Linked DNA regions of Homo sapiens: region 1 is linked to region 2. The links are contacts of gene promoters, found by promoter capture Hi-C in human tissues and cell types (Jung and others, 2019). All regions are on one chromosome and are shown on one strand. Each heading gives the region's core, a stretch centred on a gene start or on the middle of the fragment in contact. The rest is flanking DNA. Distances are from core to core; before and after follow the strand shown.

Region 1 (3,250 bases), core at 501-3,000, 850 kb after region 2:
AAATAAAATCTAGCTCTCATAATTGTCAAGTAAAATTCTATAGTTTTGAGCAAATATTTTCAAATCATCAACAGATATTTCTTGAGTACCTACCATTTGTATAGCTTTGTGGAGAAATATAAAACATGAACCTCACATTAAAACTTACCATTCAGTTAAGGAGCTTTCTCTCCTAAATAATTCCCAGCAAAACAAATGATTACGTAGAAAAGGTCTTTTAGTGTTATTTTTAGATCTGCCCACTTTCACAATGCTGTTTCCTTCCCCCCATTTCATCTGAATTCTAACAGGAAATGATTTATCAGCTGGCATTAAACTATTGGTCCACGATCTTTTATCCCAATCCTTTGAGGCCAGATGATTTGTGGAAATTCTCTTTTGGGTGCGGTGGTAGGGGTGGAATTTTCAAGAGTAGTGCCATGTCTATACCATATATTACATGATACCCACAGTAAGGTGTGGAGCTGCTCTGAACAATTAAACACATTAACATGTCTGCAATAAAAACATGTAAATATTTGGAATAAAGACTACAAATGGCCTCAGGCCAAGTTTTACCACCAAATGAGTTGGAGGAAAAGTTGATTTCCAAAAGTTTTTGGATTTCAGGATTGAGAATAAGGAACAGAGGAGCTGAACTGACTTTATCCAAAGACTTGGGACAATAATGACAATAGCATCTAAGAGGCTGAGTGTCCAGAGCTATCTCTGAAAAGATGCATTTAAGGTGGAACTATGAGAAAAGAACAGCTCTTGTGTTTGTACAGGTTCTGCCTATAGACATGAGTTTGACTCGTAAGGAAATGAGCTCTGGCCAAGAATGCTACGGGAAAATGGTTATAGAGACTACCATGCCATTAGGAGGTGTTACTGTTTTGATGAAAAGAATACTGTCAGAGGCAGAGAATCTAATCTTTTCCAGCCCTAAGTGTGTGTTCATTAATTTATTCAACTAATAATCTTCCAGAGCTTACCATGTGGCAGGCTCCATTCTAGGAAATGGAGAAACAGGTGCACAAGACACAGTCCTCACACCCTGGAGTAAACAGCTACTCTTCATTGAACGCTCACAATGTGCTCACACCTGGGCCTTCACATGCCTCATCTCTCTCCTTTAATTAGGATTCAAAGCCATGATTTGAGGTCCTGCTTTGCCATTTCCTAACTAAGACTTAACAACTTCTCTAAGTCTCAGTTCCCTCATCCGCAACACAAAGAATAATCGCCAGACAGGGCCGTGGGGGAGGAAGAAACGAGATGCTTTGGAAAGAATTTTGAAAATGGCGGGTGGAGGCTGAGCAAGAATCAACTTTCTGTGGGCAGGGCCTTTCCTCGGCATCCTCGTCTTCATTCATACAACCCCCACTTCAGATGACGACTGTGTACCAGATGAGCCAGGTGCTGGGCGTTCGGCCACACAGAGAATCAGACCAGCAATTACCCTAGGAGAACCGGCAGTGGAGGGGAAGGCTGGACCTCAGGAAAGCCTCTAGAAGGAGAGAGGGACGTGATGGCGTCACGTCACGCCACAGGGATTTCACCTCCTGCGGATGGTAATGGCCTCGCCGCCCTCCCGCCCCCACCTGGACTCCGACGGTGCCGGCAAGAAACGGGAGGAGGGAAGGCAACCGATGTTTCCAGACCCGCCTTGAGCCCCACCACCACTCCCAAGCAGAGGCTGTTACCTGAGAGGAAAGTCGGCCGCTGCCCAACGACCAAACTTCCTCTCCCCAGGATATTCCACCTACTCCAGCCAGGCTCAAGGGCCCAGGCCGGTCCCCACTTCCGCTTCCTCACTTTCTGGCCTGGTGCAGTTCCTGTCAGGGCGTCAAGCAAGATGGTTGCAGATACCTGAGCTGGAGGGTACCAAGGGGAATGAAGGTAAGTGTCTTCGTTTCACAGGCTGCCGGGCTGTGACACTGCCCTAATCCTCCTTTCAAAGAATAAATTTTTTTTTTTTTTTGAGATCTGGGAAATAGTTTAATCAGACACTAGCATTTATTCTTAGCTGCTTTCTTAATTAAATAAAAATGAGTATAAATTAATTTACTAAATGTTCACAACGTAAAAACGGACATTAAAAAAAGAAAAAAAATGCCAAGGTAAGCTGATAATGTTTTTAAAAAGTAGACAATAAAATAATGTATGTAACTTAAAATTTGCCATGATAATTTATTCTTAAAATGGAAAATCAGTAAAATACTCAGACTTCTAGCATAATATCTCTTTTTTTTTATTTATTATTATTTAAGTTTTAAGGACATGGATGAAATTGGAAATCATCATTCTCAGTAAACTATCGCAAGAACAAAAAACCAAACACCGCATATTCTCACTCATAGGTGGGAATTGAACAATGAGAACACATGGACACAGGAAGGGGAACATCACACTCTGGGGACTGTTGTGGGGTGGGGGGAGGGGGGAGGGATAGCATTGGGAGATATACCTAATGCTAGATGACGAGTTAGTGGGTGCAGCGCACCAGCATGGCACATGAATACATTTTTAAAAGTGTGTTACTACTGTCATTTCAACTGACTAGAAATACCACCAGCACGTGATTGCCACCTCAAAGGACTGAGAATGTAATAGTAGTCTATGAAGAGCAGTGTGTGTGATGGACAATGATGGGGTAGCTCCAGTGACTGATGGCTTCAGGTGCCACTGACGGGTAATTGTTGATGTATTCAACTGATTTTCCGTGAGCACCCACTTTGTGCCAGACAGTAAGGACTCGGAGATAAAAAGCAGCCCTCTGCTGGATACGTTTACAGGCTAGTGGAGGTGACAGGCACCGTCAGAGAAGATTGTAACAAGATATGTATGGCATAGTAAGAGAGAAGAGATCATCTAATTCTGCCACTGAGTATTTAAGGGCAGGTTTCACAGAAGAGTTTACATCTGAATTGAATCTTAAAGGATGACAGGGAGTTCACTGGATAGACAAAGTAGAGGAGGACGTAAGAGGCAAAGGACACATCATGTGTAAAGGCATGAAAGCTGAGCCAGCCTATTATCTTGGAAAAACTACATGTACTGTAGTTACTACAACTGTCACAAAGGCTATTAGTGGAGCAGCAGAGGAAGGTTAAATAACAGAGGGAAGTTGGATCATGAAGAACCTTATCCATACTACAAGGTGATTTTATCCAGTAGGCATTGAAAAATGTAATCGAACCTGTGTTTTAATGGAATATTGACTAGGATGAGGGGAAAAGACAGAGGATAACAAAACACTTAGTAGACA
Region 2 (3,023 bases), core at 231-2,730:
TCCCAAAATGCTGGGATTACAGGCGTGAGCCACTGTGCCTGCCTGGGATCATATGTTACACGCATGTTTGTTCAATAAGCATGGAGTGCAGCCACCCACATGAATATTCATAGCTCCTCCTATAGCCTGTTGAATATGTATGTTTAGCCAACCCCTTCAGCATAAAGCTCCTGCCCCAACCCCTCCTGCTTCTAAATGTCTGTCTCTGGTGTTTCCCAGAGGCTGCTCTTCCCAGGCTGCGGGATGGCTACCTTGCTGCCTGTCACCCTTAACAAGAAATAAAATCTCCTTTCCAAATTTATACATTGTGGCCAGGCGCGGTGGCTCACACCTGTAATCCCGGCACTTTGGTACGCCAAGGCGGGCGGATCTCCTCAGATCGGGAGTTCGAGATCAGCTGACCAACATGGAGAAACCCTGTCTCTACTAAAAATACAAAAATTAGCCAGGCATAGTGGTGGGCGGCTGTAAGCCTGACCAACATGGAGAAACACTGTCTCTACTAAGAATACAAAAATTAGCCTAGGCGTAGGGGTGGGTGCCTGTAATCGCAGTTACATGGGAGGCTGAGGCAGGAGAATCTTTTGAACCTGGGAGGCAAAGGTTGCGGTGAGCTGAGATTACGCCACTGTACTCCAGCCTGGGTAACAGAGCAAGTCTCCGTCTCAAAACAAACAAACAAACAAAAAAACACAAAAAAACAAAAGCAAACAAAAAAACCAAATGCATCCCTTGTGTAATTTTTAGGTCACCGCGCCATGGGAACACGCTACCAGGGGAAGGGAGCTGTGAGACGCGCAGGGAGGCTCCAGACAGGCTGGCCTGGGACACCAGCCACTGCTCTTCCATGACATGGGGACAAGAGGAGGCGAGAGCTCAGCCCACCAGGGAGGAACTCCGGGCAGGAGATGGGGAAGAAGGAGAAGCAGGAAGGAAAGAGCTCAGTGTGGGGGCGCGCATGGCATCCCGGTGGGACATCTGAGGCCCACACCCACCTGCTGTCCCTCCCTCCCACGGTGGCCTCCGAGGGTGAAGGCCTGGGGAGAGGCAGACACCTGGCCCTTTACTCTCCCTCCCTGTCCCCATGGCCGCTGGGTGGGGGCCGTCTCTGGGATGATCCCCGAGGGCAGGATCCGGGAGTCCCTGCGGAGGCATCAGCCTGTCTGTCTTGATGGTGGAGAGGAGGCTCCAGCTGGGCGGGACCACCAGGGGAGGGGCTTGTGCTCTGCTGGCTCAGCCTGGTGTGGACCCACCTCGCGGGCGCTGGCTGCAATGACTTTCTCTTTCCCTTTGCAATTGCCTTGGGTCCTGCCGCACAGAGCGGCCTGTCTTTATCAGAGGTCCCTCTGCCAGGGGGAGGGCCCCAGAGAAAACCAGAAAGAGGGTGAGAGACTGAGGAAGATAAAGCGTCCCAGGGCCTCCTACACCAGCGCCTGAGCAGGAAGGGGGAGGGGCCATGACTACGAGGCCCTGGGAGGTCACTTTAGGGAGGGCTGTCCTGAAACCTGGAGCCTGGAGCAGAAAGTGAAACCCTGGTGCTCCAGACAAAGATCTTAGTCGGGACTAGCCGGCCAAGGATGAAGCCTCACTTCAGGTACCGCTGCCCGCTCTACCCGCTGGGCCCCTCTGCTGCCCCTTCCTGCCTGGTGGCTCTGCTGGGCGTCAGCCCTGGCCTCCCCCTGCCCCAGCCCCAGCCCTGGGCTCCCTCCCCTCTGGCTCCCCTGCCCCCGCCACTCCCAGCCAGGCTCTTTTTCCTGCTCTGTGGTTGCCCCACTGCTGCTTCTGAATAGGCCGCTTCCCCACCTGCCCCAGCCCAGGTGCCCTGCTGAGACTCTCCCCCGCCACCGAAAGTCATGGCAGGGCTGGTGCTCCCGGCCCTGGGAGGGTGCTCCCTCTGTGTTCTTTCCGCCATTCCTGAACTCTGGAACTGGGAGAATTGAACCAAAGGATGATTAGAGCAATGTGGAATTTTGTTCACAGTGCTTTGATGGATTTTCTGTAACATTTACTTTGCTTAAATAGCAAGTCTTAGGAGAGGGTGTGGGGAGGGAATGGTCTCTGAAGCACAAGATAAATCGTATCTTCCAAGGATGTCTCCACTGTGGGCAGAGGAGGATGCAGATGACCCCAAACACACGCTCCTCCTCCACTATCAGCATTCACTGTTTATAAATGACACGAGTAACATGGAATATAGTGGCCGGGTGCGGTGGCTCACACCTGTCATCCCAGCACTTTGGTAGGCTGAGGTGGGTGGATTGCCTGAGGTCGGGAGTTCGAGACCATCCTGATCAACATGGATAAACCCTGTCTCTACTAAAAATACAAAATTAGCCGGGTGTGGTGGCGGGCGCCTATAATCCAGCTACTCCACAGGCTGAGACAGGAGAATCGCTTGAACCCAGGAGGCGGAGGTTGCAGTGAGCCGAGATCGCCCCATCGCACTCCAGCCTGGGCAACAAGAGCCAAATTTCGTCTCAAAAGAAAAAAAAACAAAAACAAAAAACATGGAATATATGGGAAAAAAACTCAATGATCAGGAGAAATGCTATTATTTTAAAATTTAGTAAGAAGAGAGTCTGGTCCCCAATGGCTCCCTCCTGCAAGGCTGGTGACACAGAGACTGGACAGGGCTGGTCTGGTAAGAGGCCCCAGCCCCATCCGTCCCCAGCTCTGTGGCCTGGGCAGGTTACCCCATCTCTCTGCGCCTCTGGCACCTCCTCTGTAAGATGGGAATGGCCCGTGCGGGCCTAGGGCAGCCTCACATGAGCTCACATCCGCGCAGCACTTAGAAGAGTGGCCTGGGCCTCAGAATTCGGTTCTACCATGATTTAACAATAGTAATATACAGAGGTGAAATGTCAGAAGGAACTGGCTGAAAGGTTAAAATCTATTATTTTGGGGTGAATAGTTTTATTCTCTCTCTCTTTTTTTTTTTTTTTTTTGAGATGGAGTTTCGCTCTTGTAGCCCAGGCTGGAGTGCAGTGGCACGATCTCGGCTCACTACAACCTCCGCCTCCCAG

What was found. Contacts are between HindIII fragments. The study calls those that stand out against the background at their distance.
Region 1: the fragment with the promoter of ENTHD1 here is called in contact with the fragment with the promoter of APOBEC3F in region 2 in 1 of the 25 tissues and cell types used here (dorsolateral prefrontal cortex).

The regions. Positions count from the first base shown.
Region 1 is chr22:39,892,010-39,895,259 of GRCh38, forward strand. ENTHD1 (ENTH domain containing 1) reads right to left here and starts at 1,751. Exons shown (of 7, transcript NM_152512.4): 1 at 1,686-1,751. It also overlaps a transcript of GRAP2 not described here. The HindIII fragment of the contact is 22,421 bases long and covers 1-3,250 here.
Region 2 is chr22:39,039,384-39,042,406 of GRCh38, forward strand. APOBEC3F (apolipoprotein B mRNA editing enzyme catalytic subunit 3F) reads left to right here and starts at 1,481. Exons shown (of 7, transcript NM_145298.6): 1 at 1,481-1,594. The coding sequence starts at 1,578. RefSeq lists enhancers at 1,291-1,350, 2,403-3,023. The HindIII fragment of the contact is 19,854 bases long and covers 1-3,023 here.